4 separate regions of the Homo sapiens genome follow, and regions 2, 3 and 4 are each linked to region 1. The links are contacts of gene promoters, found by promoter capture Hi-C in human tissues and cell types (Jung and others, 2019). All regions are on one chromosome and are shown on one strand. The core of a region is centred on a gene start or on the middle of the fragment in contact, and the rest is flanking DNA. Distances in the headings are between cores, read along the strand shown. Region 1 holds the start of GXYLT2 (glucoside xylosyltransferase 2). Region 2 has its middle 22 kb from the start of PROK2. Region 3 has its middle 61 kb from the start of PROK2. Region 4 has its middle 6.7 kb from the start of EIF4E3.

The links. Contacts are between HindIII fragments. The study calls those that stand out against the background at their distance.
Region 2: a contact is called between a fragment that was not itself captured here and the fragment with the promoter of GXYLT2 in region 1, in 1 of the 25 tissues and cell types used here (lymphoblastoid cells).
Region 3: a fragment that was not itself captured here is called in contact with the fragment with the promoter of GXYLT2 in region 1 in 1 of the 25 tissues and cell types used here (dorsolateral prefrontal cortex).
Region 4: a fragment that was not itself captured here is called in contact with the fragment with the promoter of GXYLT2 in region 1 in 1 of the 25 tissues and cell types used here (adrenal gland).

What each region holds. Positions count from the first base shown.
Region 1 is chr3:72,886,124-72,891,115 of GRCh38, forward strand. It overlaps GXYLT2 (glucoside xylosyltransferase 2), which reads left to right and starts at 1,923. Exons shown (of 7, transcript NM_001080393.2): 1 at 1,923-2,385. The coding sequence starts at 2,111. RefSeq lists silencers at 1,963-2,192, 2,293-2,422. The HindIII fragment of the contact is 12,200 bases long and covers 1-4,992 here.
Region 2 is chr3:71,805,316-71,809,869 of GRCh38, forward strand. No RefSeq gene overlaps it. Among named protein-coding and RNA genes, the nearest start is that of PROK2, 22 kb to the left of the region's middle. The HindIII fragment of the contact is 7,193 bases long and covers 1-4,554 here.
Region 3 is chr3:71,843,686-71,848,581 of GRCh38, forward strand. No RefSeq gene overlaps it. Among named protein-coding and RNA genes, the nearest start is that of PROK2, 61 kb to the left of the region's middle. The HindIII fragment of the contact is 5,285 bases long and covers 664-4,896 here.
Region 4 is chr3:71,729,774-71,734,445 of GRCh38, forward strand. It overlaps a transcript of EIF4E3 not described here. Among named protein-coding and RNA genes, the nearest start is that of EIF4E3, 6.7 kb to the left of the region's middle. RefSeq lists an enhancer at 125-419. The HindIII fragment of the contact is 3,729 bases long and covers 37-3,765 here.

The DNA of each region.
Region 1 (4,992 bases), core at 673-3,172:
GGGCCACATGTCAACAGAGTGGTGGCCATTTCTAAACCTGAAAGATCTAAACATCATGCCTTAGCCTGGCCTAGTGTTTCTCAACAGGGTCCCACATTGGGCCAGGATAGTTTTCGTTGTTGGTATGTCCTGAGCATTGCAGGAGGTTTTGCATATGCTAGTAGAACCTGTCAGCCTTCCCACAATTCCAGATGCTTCCTGGTAGGATGGAACCTTCTCCCTCATCTTTGAGAACTAATGGATTCTTTGCGCTTACTCACCTACAACATGTCCCCCACACTGAACTTGCACCCTGCCATTTCCTAGATGTCTGCTTGGCAAGAGCTTCCAAATTACTAAATATTCTCATCTCTAGAACTTTTAATACAATGGGTTCTCAAGGAATTAAAATAAAATGCTAATATGAGAATAATTCAGAATATAACTAAATTTTAGATTATTTATAAAGCAACATGGAATCTTGTAGAAACTCAGGGACGGGCTGGGCGCGGTGGCTCATGCCTGTAATCCCAGCACTTTGGAAGAACGAGACGGGCGGATCACTTGAGGTCAGGTGTTCAAGACCAGCCTGGCCAACGTGGTGAAACCCCGTCTCTACTAAATATACAAAAATCAGCCGGGTGTGGTGGCGCAGCCTGTAATCCCAGCTACTTGGGAGGCTGAGGCAGGAGAATGGCTTGAACCCGGGAGGCGGAGGCTGCGGTGAGTTAAGATTGCACCATTGCACTCCTGCCTGGGCTACAGAGTGATCCAAAAAAAAAAAAAAAAAAAAAACTGAAAAACTCAGGGACGTTGTTATAACTTAACTAGTGTTCTTTGTTCTGTGGTGTGCTGAAAAGAGAGTTAATGGAGTCCTGGCTGTCAGTTCACCGTGAGTCATAAGAGGATGTGTCCTAATGTTTCAGATTTGTAACTGGGGATCCCCTGGAAGAATCGTCTGGAAATTACGACCTTCATCTGGCGATTGCAGCTGTTAAAGTCTCCAAAGAAGCCATTCTTACATTGTGTTGTGAAATTATTACTCTATCTCAAATCTGTGCCAGAAAGAAAATAAAATGTGTGTTTATGTGTATATTATAAGCTATGTTTTATTGAACTAATCATTACAGAACTTTTATTGGGCACCGACTGTGAGCCAGGCACTGTGCTAGTTTCTTTGAAGGCATTATTTAATTTAATGCTCACAAAACGCCTCTGTAGTGAGCAGTATTGTCATTCCCATTTTGCACGTAAGGAAGTTAAGGCTTAAGAAAGTTGTGCAGCTTCCTCAGGATCACCAAGCCAGTTAAGCACAGTGTCAGATTTCAAATCCAAACTTTGAAATTCATTCTCTAATTTCTTCAGACTACATGGATCGGTTCGGTCCAGTCTAGCTGTCCCAAGTTCTACTTTGGTGTTTTGAGTCTGAAACCCCAACTACTAATCACGTGTTACTTTTACTCGCTTTGCCTTATTTTGCATGTGTCCTTGTTGAATATGTCCTCCTCCAGGAAAAAGGGAGGTGGCAAGACAGAGGCGGCAATAGGGGTTTATTCAACAGATATTTATTGGGCACCACCACCCGCAGATCCCTGCACTGGGCAAACAGGACAGAGATGTTCCTGCCTGAAAGGATGTGTGGATAAGTGCACAAATGTGTGGATAGATGGATAAAATAAATAAGGAGGAAGCACATGGAATACATCAACAAATAAGTGAATCATGGTATGAGAGAATCAGCGGGAACAGTGGATGGCATGGGTGTGTGAGTGAATGGGGAAGTAAACGAACGAACGAACGAATGAATGAATGAAGTGGTTTTGAGTCTGAGCTACCAGAAGCCCGAGAGCCTGGCTGCGGGCGGGCGGAGGGGCGGCTACTCCACACAGTACGGTAGGCGCAGGCTGCTCCTCCTGTAACCCAGCTCTCACCGCCTCCCCCTCCTCTCCTCTCTCTCCTCCTCCTTCGCCGTCGCCGCCGCCGCCGGCCGCCCGCCGGCCGCCACGACCCCAGTCCCCGGCGGGCGGGCGGAGGAGGCGACCGCCGCGCGCTGCTGCACTCATCCTGCCGCCGCCGCGATGCGCAGAGGGGCCGAGCCGCCTGGGGGCCGCCGCCGCCGCCGCGCCGCACCATGAAGCTCCGCAGCAAGGCGGCGGCGCTGCTCTTGCTCGCGCTGGCCGCGCTGCTGCTGGCGCTGCTGTCCCTGCGCGCTGGCCGCGCTGAGCCCCCAGCGCTGCCCGCGCGCCCCGCGTCCGCCCCGCAGCGCCACCCCGCGCCTGTCCCCGCGCGCTGGCCGGGGCCGGGCGCCCTCCCCGGGGCCAGCCCGGGAGTTCGGAGGCGCCGGCCCCCGCGTCCGCGCCCCCGAGCGGGCCGCCGGGGCGCTGCGAGACTGGAGAAGTTGGCGAGGTGAGTCGTGGCAACCCCAGAATCCCATCTGCGGACCCGTGTCTCGCTCCCTACACCCGTGCCAAGTCCAAGGGAGGCTTTGCGCTGGAGAGACAGATTTCCAAGTTTCACCCACGGGCTGCCCACTTCTGTTTCTTAACCCGATAGAAAAGAAGACCCACCTTGGTGGAGTCCCCCTAACAGCTCGGTGTTGATAATCACGTACATTTTTTGAAGTGTCAAGGAAAGTGGTTTCGTACATTACATTTTTTAACTGTCAAGGCAAGGCGTATTTTTGCACTCTTGCAAACATGCACCCTTTGTTTAATTTGTCAAAAGCCATCACGGTGCAAGAATGTTTTATCTAATTCTCATGTTTCACTGGAGAATTTTACCGAAACCTTAGATATGGTTGAGTTGGAAAAGTTAGATGTTTACCAAGGACTGGCAGCCTCTCATTTAACCTCGAGTACCCCCATGCTTAGAACAGAAGGGACACTTGACCTAAGTTTATTAAAAAGAAGTTTTCTCCTTGAAAGGACTGATGCGTGGCACAGAAAAGACAGAGTGGGGGTTTCCAGATCCTCATTCTGTTTCAGGCTCGAGTGTGGTCAAAGGGTCCTCCTACAAGAAAAACAACTTAACCTTCGACCTTCTGTTTGATACTCTCTTTCCCTACACAAAGCCTAACACGCGGAGGCTTTTCATCAGAGAGCTTTATTTTTGGCCTCAGGGTTGCTGGAACGCCCCGCAGGTTAGGGATTTGAGTTCATTTCCTTTGTTGTGGAGGGCTTTTCAACAATCCCCTTGTCTTGTAGCGAGTCTGTTTCATCTGCCCTTTCAAAACTGTTGTTTCTAACTGCCATTGCAACGTCCTTGTTTGCTGGGCTCCTTAATTTCAACCTGAAAGGAGTTGAAAAATTATTTTTGACCATAATGACTAAATCTCTTTGGTGCCTTTACTGTAACTAAAAGACACGAAACCTCAAGAAGTAGCTGTGTCAGCCTTTGTTTCCCTTCTGTCTCAGTACAAATGGGTACTGACAAGTTTTAGGGGGAAAAAACCCCAACAATCTGTCGCTTTAAAGTACTTATAACACTTTACAGCCCTTTCTGGATGTATACAGTCTTTAAGGATATCTTTGTTAGGAAATTAATAGGATTTCCCCTCTTCTATACTGGAGTTTCTTGTAAGAGATTAATTAGGGTTTAACTGCAAGTTTAATATGATTGCTAAGTTTGATGGGACAACTGGTAAGATAATAATAACTGTCATCCTTAACATCGCTAACCTATTGCCAGGGACAGTGCTAACCGCAGTACATACAAATAGTCACAGTTAACACTTAACATATACAACTACATAATCCACACCATAACCTTCCCCCCCACCGCTGTTTTTCTTTTGGTTTTTTTTTTGTTTTTTTTTTTTTTTTGTGACAAAGTCTTCCTCTGTCGCCCAGGCTGGAGTGCCGTGCTGCGATCTCTGCTCACTGCAACCGCTGCCTCCCGGGTTCAGGCCTCCCAGATTCAAGTGATTCTTGTGCCTCAGCCTGCCAGGTAGCTGGCAAACAGGCGTGTGCCACCATGCCCAGCTGATTTTTGTATTTTTAGTAGAGAGACGGGGTTTCACCATATTGGCCAGGAACTCCTGAGCCCAGTGATCCATCTGCCTCAGCCTTTCCCAAAGTGCTAGGATTACAGGCGTGAGCCACCGCGCCGGGCCCAACCATAACCCTTTGACAGTGGTTCTCAAAGTGTGGACTTCAGACCAGTGGCACAGGCATCATCTGGGAACTTGTTAGAAATGCAGATTCCTGGGCCCCACCCCAACCCTACAGAATCAGAAGCTTTGGGGGGTCAGCAACCGTGTTTTAACACGTCCCTCCCATTGTTTCTCATGCACAACAAAGTTTGAGAACCTGCTCTGCAAAGTAAGCACCAATGGTATCCCCACTTTTCAGATGAGGAAAGTATTGCACAAGGGTTAGCAGTTTGTCCAAGGTTCACAGGTAACCTGGTAGAGAAGGATAAAGATCCAGGCAGTGTGGGCTCAGGTTGAGCACTTACCTGCTATGCTGATGTCAGGCCATAGACTTGCCTGCAATTCGTAATTTTACTGAGATGTCTTTTAAAGAAACACTGTAGATTTTTGGATCTGTCTCATTCTTCAAGGTGTCGAGAACAGTGGCGCAGCATCTTTTTGTGTCTATCTGAACAAAGTGTCTCTGACTAGGAGGAGATCATGAACAGAATCCAAATGGATGTTTTAGGGAAGGAGTGTTTCTATTTCCAGGAGTAACAGTACCCTTGAAGCCATTTTTCTTTTGAACATATCTCTTAGATTATCGTGGAAATTATGGCCAACACCATAGGAATACAGAACAAAATTTTAAAACTGGGGAAGGAGTAAAAAACAAAAGCCACAGGAAGTCTCAGGCTCAAATGCATAAACAGTTGACATTTTCTGGGACTTATTTATTGTTTCTCTTGCTACCTCCACAGAAATGGCAACAGAAGATTCTGAAGTTGTGAGGGAGCAGGAGGAAAGATCTCTGCTCGGTCTCCTTTATTGCTTTCCTAATTCTGCTTGGGTTAAATTTTTGTGGTTTAGGAGGAATTTCATTT
Region 2 (4,554 bases), core at 1,028-3,527, 1.1 Mb before region 1:
TTCTCACAAGATCTGGTTGTTTAAAGCTGTGTGGCACCTCCCCCATTTCTCTCTTCCTCCTGGGGTGGCCATGTAACATGTGCCTGCTTCCCCTTCACATTCTGCCATGATTGTACATTTCCTGAGGCCACCCCAAAAGCAGAAGCCAGTATGCTTCCTGTAAAGCCTGAGGAATCATGAACCAATTAAACCTCTTTTCTTTATAAATTACCCAGTCTCAGGTATTTCTTTATAGTAGTGCAAGAACAGACTAATACACCCATTCTTGACTTTGGAGTTAGATTAGACTTCTGAAGTTCAAATCTCGACTCTGCTACATTCAAGCTGTGTAACTTTGGGCAATTCACTCAATCCCTCTCAGCCACAGTTTCCTATTTCTCGAATGTAGTTTCCATGAGGGACTGGGTCTTGGTCTTTTCCTGCTGTTGCTATATTCCCAGTGACAAGACAGTGCCTGAAGTATGGTAGGGGCTTCATAAGTATTTTCTGAGGAAATAAATAAGGGTATTTGTGAAGGCTGATGGAAATGATGGGTAGTATCTGGCACAAAGCAATCACTTAATAGTATCTGAGTGACTATCTGGCACAAAGCCAGATCTGGCACAAAGCAATCACTCAATAAATGCTAGCTATAAATATATAAAATATACATATGAAGATGTAATTTTATTTTATTTCTTATATCTGGTAACATAGTTTCTAACCACAATGTAATGTGTTAGAATTCATCCTCTCTCATGCCTGTAATCCCAGCACTTTGTGAAGCTGAGGCGGAAGGACTGTTTGAGCCCAGAAGTCGGAGACTGCAGTAAGCTGTCATCATGCCACAGCACTCTTGCCTGGGCAACAGAGTGAGATCCTTTTTCTAAAAACTAACAAAACAAAACAATTATTTCCAAAAATTTAAAACTTAAAAAAAATTAAAAATTGAGAAGTTTTTTAAAATATGAAAAAAGAGGCATCTCCATATTTTCTGAGAGCAATAGTACATTGGTGAACACTGATTGCCCCGCATCCATTCACTTGTGTCTTTCTTCCTAACACAACTCCGATTCTGACCAAGTATAGCTTAGAAGAATGTGACCCGAGACTCTAGAAGTAAATCTTTTTTTTTTTTTTTGAGACAGAGTTTCACTCTGTCGCCAGGCTGGAGTGCAGCGGCACAATCTCGGCTCACTGCAACCTCTGCCTCCCCGGTTCAAGCAATTCTCCTGCCTCAGCCTCCCAAGTAGCTGGGACTATAGGCACCCACCACCATGCCCGGCTAATTTTTTGTATTTTTAGTGAGACGGGGTTTCACCATGTTGGCCAGGATGGTCTCGATGTCCTGACCTCGTGATCTGCCCACCTCGGCCTCCCAAAGTGCTGAGATTACAGGCGTGAGCCACCGCGCCAGGCCAGGAGTGAATCTTAAGGAGGCTATTGGCATGTGCCATTCCCCCATCACCTGCCTGCATGACTCATTGGTCCTGTGACTAGGACTGGTTCAATCAAAATGAAGGAAACATTTATATTACACACTTGGAGATGTGGTTTTTCCATTTTTGACCAGGTAGTTGAGAACAAAGAAGTATGTAGCTCCAGTTGCCACTGACAACTGTCTTGTTATTATGAGGCACTTGGAAATGAGGCTTACAACATCATGAGAAAGACGGAGAGAGTCAGTTATCTGACGACATCTTTCAGCTACTGATGGTGCCACTCCTTCCAGTTAGGTAAGATAATACATTTCCTTACTGTCTTATTTTTTATTTATTTATTTTTGAGACAAGGTCTTGCTCTGTTGCCCAGGCTGGAGTGCAGTCGTGTGATCTGGGCTCACTGCAGCCTTGACCTCCCAGGATCAAGTGATCCTCCCACCTTAGCCTCCTGAGTAGCTGGGACTACAGACGTGTGCCACCACGTCTGGCTAATTTTTGAAGTGTTTTATAGAGATGGGGTTTCACCATGTTGCCCATGCTGGTCTCAAACTCCTGGCCTCAAGCAACCCTCCCTCCTCGGCCTCCAAAAGTGCTGGGATTATAGGCATGAGCCACTGAGCCCAGCCATTTCATTATTATTATTATTATTATTATTATTATTATTATTATTATTATTATTAAGACAGGGTCTCATTTTGTTGCCTAGGCTAGAGTGTAGTGGCAGCAAGAGGGCTCACTGAAGCCTCAACCTCCCAGGCTGAAATAAGCCTCCTGTCTCAGCCCCTCATGTAGCTGGGACTACAGGCATGCGCCACTACACCTGGCTAATTTTTGTACTTTTTTAACAGATAGGATTTCACTATGTTGCCTAGGCTGGTCTCCAACTCCTGAATTGAAGCCACCCACCTGCCTCGGTCTCCCAAAGTACTGTGATTATAGGCTTGAGCCACCATGCCCAGCCACCTTATTTTTTATGTCATTTAGGATGGGTTTTTCCAAGCCTTACAGCCAGAAATATACTACCTAGTGGGCTGCAAAATTATGTAGGAGATGAAACTAAAAATGTCTTCTTCGAATAATAATAGTAATGGTAGCCAATGCCTTCTTCAGCACAGTGTCAAAACATATGCCAAGCCCTTCAGCTATATTAGCTATTTACTCTCTCAACAATCCTATGAGGTGGAGACTATTATTTACTTCATGTTTCACATGAGGAAACCAGGTATATGTCAAGTTACATACATACACACACACTAAACCCAAAACAGGTCAGTGGAAGAGCTGGGATTTGAACATAAAGGTCTAGTTTTGGAACCAGACTTATACCTACCCATGAAACCTAACCATTTCCATCAATAGATGAATGGATAAAGAAACTGTGGTATGTATACACAATGGAATACTAAGCAGACACAAAAAAGAATGAAGTCATGTCTTCCATAGCAACATGGATGGAACTGGAGACCATCAGCTTAAGTGAAACCACTCAGAAATAGAGAGATAAATACCACATGTTTTCGCTTATAAGTGGGAACTAAATAATGTGTACACATGGGCACAGAGTACGCAAAGACAGACATGGAAGACTTGGAAGGATGGGGTATGGAAAGAAGTGTATGATGAGAAATTTCTTAACGGGCGTAATGTACATAATTTGGGTTGATGGATACCCTAGAAGCCCTGACTTCACCACTACAAAATCTATACAAGTAACAAAATTATACTTGTACTCCATAAATTTTTACAAACAAACAACAAACCCCTACCCATTAAACTATACTTTAAAGTATTTACTTCTATGAAGATTCATAGTGAGAAAGAAAAAAATGGAATGTAATATGCTTCAGTTTTTTAAAAAGTATACTAAAGCTTTCATAGACAAAAATTGAACACTTGCAAAATTTTCTTGCTTGTGTACCTTTTCCAGGGAATTTGTCTCCTTTTGAAAACATGTATTCGTTTATCCAATCAAATATTTATTGGACACTACGTGTCAGGCATTGAAGCAGGTGCTAGAGTACATAGTGAATAACTTCCTGCCAGGTGGAGAAGACAAACAAGTAAACAAGAGGGATAAGCCCTTTCCCAGGAAGGCACAGTGTGCCATGGGCATCTAAACATGGTACCTGAACCAGTCTGATGCAACAGTCGTCTAAAAAAATGCTTCCCAGGTGAGACCTAAGATTTCCCCAGGAAAGCGGTGAGAGGTCATGTCCAAAGGCCTGGAAGAGGAAAGAAAGAATGTGTCACATCTGTGACACTGCAGGCGGTGGTAGCTAGGAAAGGGTTCAGTACATAGAAAGAGAGATGAAGTCAGTGATGCAGGCAGTGGCCAAGAAGTTCAGCTCTTGTCTAAGGCCAGGTCCTCCAGAAAGTAGAGCCTGAGTCAAAAACTAAAGTGCTAACAATTCCGGAGGTGCAAGTCCAAGGTTTAAAAGGTAAGTTAAAAAGGGAAGTATCGCAAATAAAGAAGCCAAGCATGGTGAGGAGACTGTCACACACTGCTGTGGGGCCACCATGTTACAAGGAGCTGAAAAGAGGCATAGCAGGTGGCTTAGCAGGTGAGTCTGCCTGGGACATGGGACTGCTCTGGAAAGGCTGTGGGAAGAAACCCTGTCTTTTAGTAGGCCATGAAAATAGAAAGAAGGAGGAATTAATCTGCCCAGCTCATTCTACCTCTTGTTTTCCCTTATTTAGGGAGCATCCATGGGGAGTTAATTTCCCCACACTTCTGGGTTGCAGCATCTGGTGCTTGGAGGCTGCCCAGGAAGCCAGATGTCATGCTCCATCATGCGACATTTCATCCCATTCTGGAAGTGGAGGGATGACTCAAAGCAGAGGTTGGTGTGTAGACTCAACCGGCCCACGGCTTCAACTTGGGCCCCAGGCAGCTTGGGATGTTCATCCATGGCCAAGCTGAGCTTCTTCAGAAATGAAGAAATTGAAAGAATCTGCAATGGTACATAGGTTAATGTCCGATAGTCTTTTTCCCTGAGAGAAGCTATAAAGAACATCAAGCCTAGGACAGCCCCAATCAGATGAAGAGCTCAGACGGTTCATCCTGGCTGCAGGGTGGAGATGGATTGAAATTAGCAAATCTGAAAGTGTGTCTGTCACCCTGTGGCCTGGTCTA
Region 3 (4,896 bases), core at 2,056-4,555, 1.0 Mb before region 1:
CTACTCACCCTGTCTTAGTGTCTTAGCCAGGCATGGTAGCTCTCAGTGGTGGTCCCAGCTACTTGGGAGGCTGAGGTGGGAGGATCGCTTGAGCCTGGGAGGTTGAGGCTGCAGTGAACTATGATCGTGCCACTGCACTCCAGCCTGGGTGACAGAGTGAGACCTCATTTCAAACAAAGCAAAACAAAAACAAAAAGAAGAAGAAATGTAAAAACGAAGACTCAATCCCACTGGGGACCTCTGGGAGATGCTACAGAACACGACTCATGAAGATGAGGGGTATTTTCCACCAACTCCTATCAATTATTGGTGAATCAATGCCATGAGCATTGTTCATATTCTTTGCTTTGTTTCAATTCCTCTCTCTCCTTCCCTCCTTTCCTCTGTTCTCTCACAAAGCCAGTGGGTTCTTGTCCCTCTAATGAATGTGTCTCAGCTGCACGTTTCCTTTTTTCCTTCCACGTCTACTCATAAGCCCCTTGGACAGAGTTCTGCAGATCCTCTGAGCTGGAAGCTCTGTCTCCAGTCTCACTCCTGATCCCAGCCTGGCTAATACTCTGGTTTCTCTTCAGATTGCGTATTTTTTTCCCCTTTTACCAACCTAGCTATGCTCTATTGCTCAAATACCATTGACAGAAAGTTTTTTCTCCTACTCAAATGGGGGCACTGTTGTTTATTATATTAAAGCCTAACTATTTGGCCCAATCTTTCCTTTTTTCTCAAACCTAACCCCAGAAAATGAAATTTACATGGTGTCTTTTGGGTGACCTGTATCATCTCCTTGACCTCTGCTTCTTTCTGGCCATATCCTGCCATTCTCTTATTCAGTCTCTGCATTTCAACCATCCTTGCTTTCTTTCAATTCCTAGAACTGCTATGCTCCTTCCCACCCCAGGGCCTTAGTACATGCTGTTCCCTCCTTGTCTGTAATACTCTCTGCTCTTCATCTACTAACTCCTTCTCCTCCTTCTCTTTGCTTAGTTAAGCCTTTCCTAAGTGATCCCCTGCCCACCATTCAGCCCTCATTTTCTGTCCCCAACAGGTCAGGTTGCCTTGTTACATACTCTTATCATGTGTGTATTTCATATCACTTCTCATGATTGCAGTTAATTAATTGCATAGTTACTTCAAATATCTGGTGCTCCCAGCAGTCTGAAAATTACGTGAGTGCCTGTGTTGTTCACTGCTGTGTCTCTAACACCTAGCATGATGCTTGGTGTATTGCAAGTTCTTGTTGTATATAGAAGAATGAATATGTGCAATGCACACTATCTAGCTCTGAAGGCTTTGCCTTTCTCCTCCTGTGATGCCCACCACCTTCCTCATTTAGATGAAACACTTTGTAGATAACTATGCTCAATAAACCTGATGGATGTTTATTGATGGATCCCTGGGCCAGCAGTTTGAGAGACCACTTATAAATACAAAGGTGCACAAAATCATTCTTGTTCTTTGTCTATAACCAAAAAATCATATTGTGTATCAATTGCAAATGAACTATAATGAAACAATAATATTCTTAGGGACTTGATAACAATGTTGACTGTTGGAGACTCTTGAAAAAAATAAGATGATTTTGGGAACTTGTTAAAGCTTGTGTTTACTCTCAAATTTAAGGGAGAATGCATATGGCACTAATAGAAGTTAGACAATAGAGTGATGACTTAATGTTTTGGAAATTTAGGGGACAGGTGTGACAGCCTATTGTGTCTCAGAACAAGCAATTTGAACAAAGACATAAAGTATACAAATGGGAAGAGAATTTGATTTCACTTAATTTTATTTGGTAGAACTTAACACTTGAACAACTGCTGTTTGCTAGACTTTAAGAGTTTTAAAATTCCCCTTTCTCCCTAATGGATCCTGAAGAGAAATGTATCCATTTGTTTCATGGCAAATGTTCAATTGCAGATTTGAGGGATAATAAAAGCTCTTACCTTACTATTTAATTATTCAGTTGACTGCTAGAAAGATTAAGCTACCTAAATGGGTTTGTAACTCAGAAATGACAATATATGCTTATTTTAAAAGATAGCCATGTAATTCCAAGACAAACTAGTGGCAATCTAGATTTTTATTATGACAGTAGCAATTTGGAAATTATGCCAAAAGTTCAAAAAAATTGGCAGTCATAAGTTTGCTTTTTTACTTGATAGTCTTGAATATGCTTTCTGTGACAAGTATTATATTCCTGAAACTTCTACACTGAACACCCAGAGTGAATAATTGCATAAAATGTAACAATGAGATATTTATAAATATAATATTTTTCTATTCAACGATTACATTTTTCTATAAGAAGAGTTTGATGTATATTTAATGCTAGACCTACTTTAAAATATGTACACATTACTAAAGGGAAAATGCATTAAAAGAAACCACTGTATTATCAATTTCTGGTAAAGCTTAAAAATGTTGTCATTAATTATAGATGGAGCACTTTTCCTGTGATATATTCCTATTTGTTTGACACCTGGCAGGGCCTGCACCAATTTATTCACTTTCTCTGTTACACAGCATTCAATCCCTGGGGCCATTATTTCTGAGGGAAACCAAGTAACATAACCAGAAGCCTCCATGAATGATTCATACTAGAACACTCTAGAACATGCTGCCCAATGGGATATGCTGACTGACTAATCCAAATTGATGGCTGGAGCTTCTGTGGTGTCACAAGGAAGTGATCCACTTACCAGATCCTCGAGATTAGCTAAACCCTTTCAGCAGCTGCTGAGCCTCATAGGTCTCCCCTTGTCCGCACGTATTATCTGCAACGTTATCGGGATAGAGCATTTCCTAAACAAACGCACGCGCATAAACACTGTAAAATAGCTGCTTGTCTCTGGCACCTCCGAGACACTTAGTAGCGTCTTTATCTCTTTTATATTGAATAACCTCTTCACTAGTATAGAAGCAGTGCATTTATATTTATAGAAAATTAGGAAACACAAACAAAAACTTCACCTTACCATCACCCAGAATCACCATATGTTAGATCTTCGTCCATATGCTTCCGAATCTTTATGTATTTGTACATATATTTGTATTTATATACACACATATTAGTATGTATTCTGCTTTACCAGTGTGAGATGACACTCCACTTACTGTCTTAAAACTTACATTTTCAGCCAATGATCTTTACCTTTCCACTTCAGTACTTTTTTTTTGAGACAGGGTCTCACTCTGCCGCCCAGGCTGGAGTACGGTAGCGCAAACACTGCTCACTGCAGCCTCTACCTCCTGGGCTCAGGTGATCCTCCCACCTCAGTGTCTTGGGTAACTAGGACTACAACTACTGTCACACTGGGCTAATTTTGTTGTTGTTGTTGTTGTTGTATTTTTTGTAGAGACAGGGCATCACTATGTTGCCCAGGCTGGTCTTGAATTCCTGGGCTCAAGTGATCTGTCCACCTCAGCCGAGCCACTGTGTCTGGCCCACTCAGTATATTTTTATGTCATTGAATAGCTAAACCATATTCAAATTTCACCAATTAAGCTAAAAAGACCTTTATAACTGGCTTGTCCTCTCCAGAAATCCTCTCAAGAATCAAATCTGGCTGATATAGTCCTTATTTCTACCCAGTCTATCCTGATTTCCTTTTTGATGACATTGGCTTGTTGAGGACACTGGACTGGTTTTCCTGTGGAATATCTCACCTTCTAGATTTGTCTGATTGCTTCCTTACTGTGCCATGTAGCTGATTCCTGTACCCCTCCATCTCCTGCAAATGATAGGTTAGATCTAAAGGACTGATGGATTCAAGACAAGCATTTTTGGCTAGAATATACCATAAGGGATTCTGTATCTAGAACTACACTACTCAGTGTGGTAGCTACCAGCCACATGTACCCATTTAAATTTAAGCTTAAATAAATTAAAATGAAAAATTCAGTTCCTCAGTTGTATTAGCCACATTTCAAGTGCTCAATAGCCCCATGTGGCTAGTGGCTACCACTTAGACAGGGCAGATATGAAATATTTCTTTCATTGAAGAAAATTCTACTAGACATACTAACTAGAGAATGAGTCCATTTCTCCATCTCTTGAATCTGGGCATCACTATGCAACTTTGTTCAGCCAATAGGATACTAATAAACATCATGCAATCAGAGGCTCGGAAAATGCTTGTGTACCAGGGCTTTCCCTCTTTTGCTATTGAAACCTCGAGACCACCACGTGAAGGAGCTCAGGCCAGCCTACTGGAGGATGAGACACCACATGGAGCATGGCCCCAGCTAGTCCAGATGAGTTCCCAGAGATGTGAGTCAAGCCATCCTAGATCATCTCAACAGACCATGTGAAGGGAGGCCTCAGCCATCCAGCCATCTCTGCTAACTGCCAGACATTTGAGTGAGGTCATCTGGGATCCATCAGCCCCAGCTGGGCCACCAGCTGTCCGTAGAGACCAATAAATTTGGCCCAGACAGAAGAACCAACCAGCTGACCCACAGAGTAATAAAGAATAAGAAATGATTATTGTTTTTAGCCACTAGATTCTTTGAATGATTTGTTACTCAGCAATAAATAACTGACACATGATCAGAAAGGAATTTATATAATGTTACTTTGGTCCTATGTCTTGTTCTGTATCCCACTCACTTAATATATAAATCTTGCCTAAATCAATAATTTCATTAGGTTTTGCAAGATCAGGTTTTCAACCTTTATCGTTTCTTCTACGTTCATTAACTGGTGTTCTTTTGTAAAGTAGAGATTCTCTTCAACAGGTGGGCTAGTTGGCTATCCTGTCATATAGTTCCTACTGGAAAAGGCAAAATGTTTAATTTTTTTCCTTTAATGACCAACTAAAAAGTAAGGAGTGGTTTAATGGCCATCTCGTATAATGTCTTTTCAGGCTTTCTCTTTTTTTAGTATCTTTATGAAGTCACACA
Region 4 (4,672 bases), core at 651-3,150, 1.2 Mb before region 1:
TCTGGGAGCCTACATTCCAATAGAATGTGTGTGTGTGTGTGTGTGTGTGTGTGTGTGTGTGTGTGTATTTAAGTGTTTGTTGAATGGGTGGCGGAACTCATTGGCAATATGCTGTTTATGTTGCTGGGCTCCTTCTCTAACACTGAGAAGTTTCCTGTTTACAGGGTGTGATACTATAAATATGCAGGCCTGTCTTTTATGTGGGAACTCCGTTTTCCTTTAACAGCAAAAGAAAAAGGAAGGCAATGGCCACTAGATGGCAGTCTTCAGTGCCGGTAGGTACAGGGCACAGGAAGGGACTGGCCTGGGGCAGAGGCCCTCACTGAAGCTTCCAGCAAAGGTGTGTTGCAGCTGGTCAGTCCTAGAGCAATGGCTTGGAAAGGTAGGGGAGACTTGACACTATTCTGGGATACTCACGGGTCAGGGGAGGCTGCGGTGTGGTTCAAGAGTGATTGCTTCAGAGTGAGACTGATCCCTGCTCTAACCAAGATCCTGCCATAGGTAAACCCTGTGACTCTGGGAAGTTATTAACCTTGCTGAGCTCCAGATTCCTCATCTAGGGTACAGATAACAAGAGCACTCTCAAGGGACTGCTCTGAGCCATGTATAAGAAAACATTGTCTATAAAGCACCTTGCAAGTTGCACATAGAAAAAGCTCAACTAGTGTTATTTATCTAGATTCCAAAAGACCTCTGAAGATCTTTTAGGGGCCAGGCCAGGCCTCTCTTGTTCAGAGCTGCTAATGGAAGAGAAAGGGGCAAAGGAAATGGCATGTGTTAAGCATCTGCAGTGAGGACACTGAGGTCCATGTGGTCATTGAGCCTGGAAAATGTGGCCTTGAGGTTTGGTTGTCCCACTCTCCACATCCATCCACCTATCAGACATTGAGTTCTCGTCCTGATCTGCCTGCAATCCGTGTGTTGGTCTTCCTTCTTTTTTTCTTTTTCTCTATTATTATTGTTGTTGTTTTTTTTGAGACAGAGTCTTGCTCTGTTGCCCAGGCTGGAGTGGAGTGGCACAATCTTGGCTCATGCAGCCTCGGCCTCCCAGGCTCAAGCAATCCTCCCATCTCAGCTTCCCCAGTAGCTACAAGCACATGCCACCATGCCCTGCTAATTTTTAAATTTTTTGTAGAGACAGGGTTTCACCATGTTGTTCAGGCTGGTCTTGAACTCCTGGCCTCAAGTGATCCTCCCACAACAGCCTTCCAAAATGCTGGAATTACAGACGTGAGCCACAGTGCCTAGCCTGCTCTTCCTTCTTTATTCCCACTGGTGCCAGCCACTCCCAGTCCTCACTCCTGAGTCAGCCAAGCATGGCCTGGAGGACTGCAACAGCCTCCTAACGGGTCTCCCTGCTTCTAACACCCGACCCTCTCATCTCCTGCCAGACAGCAGCCTGAACAACAGTCCTCAAACACTGGTTTGCTTCTGCCTGCTCTCAGAAAAAAACCCAGACTCTTTCTGGTGGCCAACAGTACTTGGCATCTTCTGGATCCTTCCTGCCTTTCCAAATCCATGGCTGATCTCTCCCCCTGCCTCAAAGCTTCTCTGTGGCCACAGGGCACCTGCATATGCTGTTCTTTCTCCTGAACTGCTAGTCCCTCCGCTTGCATGGCTGACTCCTTCTCCTGCCTTAGGCCTCCACTCTAAAGCAGGTCTTCTCCCCTTCCTCATTATTTTTTTCAGTGCACGTGTCAGCTGCACACATCAACTGCCGATCTTCCGAAACAGAATATCCAGTCCAAGTGGGGAGGGCCAGGCCTCTCTTGTCCACCTTTGTCCACCCAGTGCCTAGTGCAGGGCCTGTCCATGGCTGGCACACCAGCAACATTTATTAAGGAAACAAACTGGGTATACAGCAGATATTGGTTGAAAGGAAGAGTCTGTGACTTTGTCTCCTAATTTCTTGTCTTTCTCCTCTGCCAGTGTATCTTTCTCATGGACGGCATGTTGGTCTTCCTAAAAAGCACTTTTGTCCTATTACTTCTTTGTTCAAAAGCCCTAAAGCGCTGCCTGTTTCTCACAGGCTGAGGTCTGAAATCTGGAATCTAGCCTTTGAAATTGTCCACACCTTGACCCCCTTTTTCAAATGCATTTGCGAGTATATTTCCAAATATATTTAGAGAGATATAATTATACACCTATATTTACATATACTTGGAATATATATGTTAAATCTATATATTTGGAGAAACAGCTATACATGGAAATATATATATTCCAAACAGATTTGTCCCTATTTCTTGGTGCATTTTCAGCTCTGCCACAACATGAGCTCCCGAAGACAGGCCTGGGCCCACCCCCTCCACCACTGTCTTCTGGGTTCCTAGCACGGTGTCTGGCACATGGGAGACCCAGCTTTACTGAATCAATGATGGGCTTACTCCCCACTTGGTAAACACACCATATGTACTCATATCTCCACACTTTTGCCTGAGACCTTTCTTCTCTCCTCTGACCATCTAAATTGTCTAACCATCCTTCAAGGGCCAGGCCAAGTTCCCTCACAGGGAATCAGTCACCAAACACACCCCAGATAGGGACAAGAGATTCACAGAGTTCTAGAGACACAGCTGGGCAGTGCCCAAACTACTTTCCTGATTTAAAAAAAAATCTCTTCCCTGATTTAAAAAAAAAAAGTCCCAACGATGTCAGTATATAGGTTTTGTGGCCAGTCTAAGAGCTCTGATTAAAGACCTTTGTTGTGGCCACACAGAATTCCACTGATTGGAGGAGTAATGATTTGTATAACCAACTCCTCCTGTTAGGCACACAGATTATTACCAGTGATTGTGGCTATCATGTGCAACCCTGTAATAAACACTCTGCCAATCACTGGCTTCTTATCAAAGAGTAGTTCTGAACATTCCTGGCCAGCCAATCAATCAGAGATACAGAGATAGCTTACATCAGAAACTGGACTGAAGGGGAGAGCCGGCAGGCCTCAAATTGGTCTTCAGCAATTTTTAAAAGAAAGGAAACGATGAGCAGTAGGGAGGCAATGTGATCAGAGGAAAGTCCAAAAACATGTGCTTGAGCCAATGTCTAACAGCCATGTGCTTTGGGACAAATCGGTGAACCTCTGAGTCTCCTTTTTTCTCAATTAAAAAATGAGTGTGCCAATAACACCTGCTTTGCAGTGCTGCCTGAAGGATCAAATCAGGAACATTTGGTGAGGCTCTACATAAAAGTCAAAAAAAGGTCACCCAAGTGTTGATTCTCGTTTCCTTATCACAGTTCCTGGAGGGGATAACCCTACATCTTCTCTGCTTTTTGAATACGAGTGTCCTCCTTTGTATGCTCGTTGGGGATCTAGAGACAGGTGGAGTGAACAACTGTCCCAATTTGCCTAGGACTGTTCCAATTTGAGCACTGAAAGTTCTGAGTCCCAGAAAACCCTTTGGTCCTGGGAAAACCCGAACGGTAGATACACAAGGAGCGGGTCCTGGAGCACTGCCTGTTCCAGAGGATTTCAGCAACCATCTTGGAGGCCTCTAATCCCCACTATGAGCTGATAACTGCTCGCCTAGTGGGATAAATCAACAGCAAGCAAGTCATTTGTTTACATCTAAGAAGCTGCTTTAAGGATAAGATTTTGTTTTGGGGATTTCATTTACGGTTCATAGATCATTTAGGGGAACATTTTGTAAGCCAGTTCTCTGAGGAAGTGTATTGTGCTTTCCGAAGCTTTATTTTAAGCTGAAATAATCATATTTATGACATAAGAAATCTTGATACAGAAAATATAAGCTGATTTGGCAAAATATTAGGAGGTTATGAGTCAGGCTGCAAAAAGACCTCCTGTACCATCTTTCCCTGTACCATATTTAACCCAAGCTTCCTGAGGGGTGGGGAGCTCACCTTTGAGGTCCTCAGAGACTATTATAAAGTACTGCTCATGTACTGGGAAGTCAATAAATATCTGAATAATGAATCCTTCTGTGATTTAAAACCATTCATTAAAGTGTAGATTGAAATACTTTATAAGTCATTTACTTCTTAAGAGCTAAGTACACTAAAGTTTGAGAAGCCATTATCAATTGATGAACAATTAGTAAAGGAAAATAAAGCAATTCTTGAAAGGAAGCTGCATTATTTGTTTTCTAAAAAAAATCATAATTACATGACATTTTTAGAACTCTAACTACTGTGCAAAATGCACCATTCAGAAACAGAAGGACACTTGCAGTGTTTAGGCCAATGAGACCCCTTCAGTTACTGAATCTCTTTTGTTTTACCATCAGCAGGAATTGCATACTCACAATACAGAAAGATCCTGTTAATTTTTCACTCTTTTCCTGTTCATTCTTATTAGTTACATATTATCTACATAATGGCAGGTTGCACCTTATGGTATTTGCTTTAAATTTTCTTAGTGTTTGTGGTAAGACAGTATCTTATTCCCAGAGGCTAAAAAGATGCACATATTGATCATACTAGGTCATCATTACAAAAGAGGAGCTCTCATGGAGGCTATGATGAACATGGTATCCCTCAGATGACTTTATACAAGTATTTGATGTCACAAATATATACTGTGGTTGACAATGATCTTGGAGATAGCTGAGTCACTTTCGTCCTTTCAAAACCTACCAGGTCACTCAGAAATACACTGTGAATTATCCTAAATTTGGGATGAGTCCCTATCATTCCTAAAATGCCTAAGGGT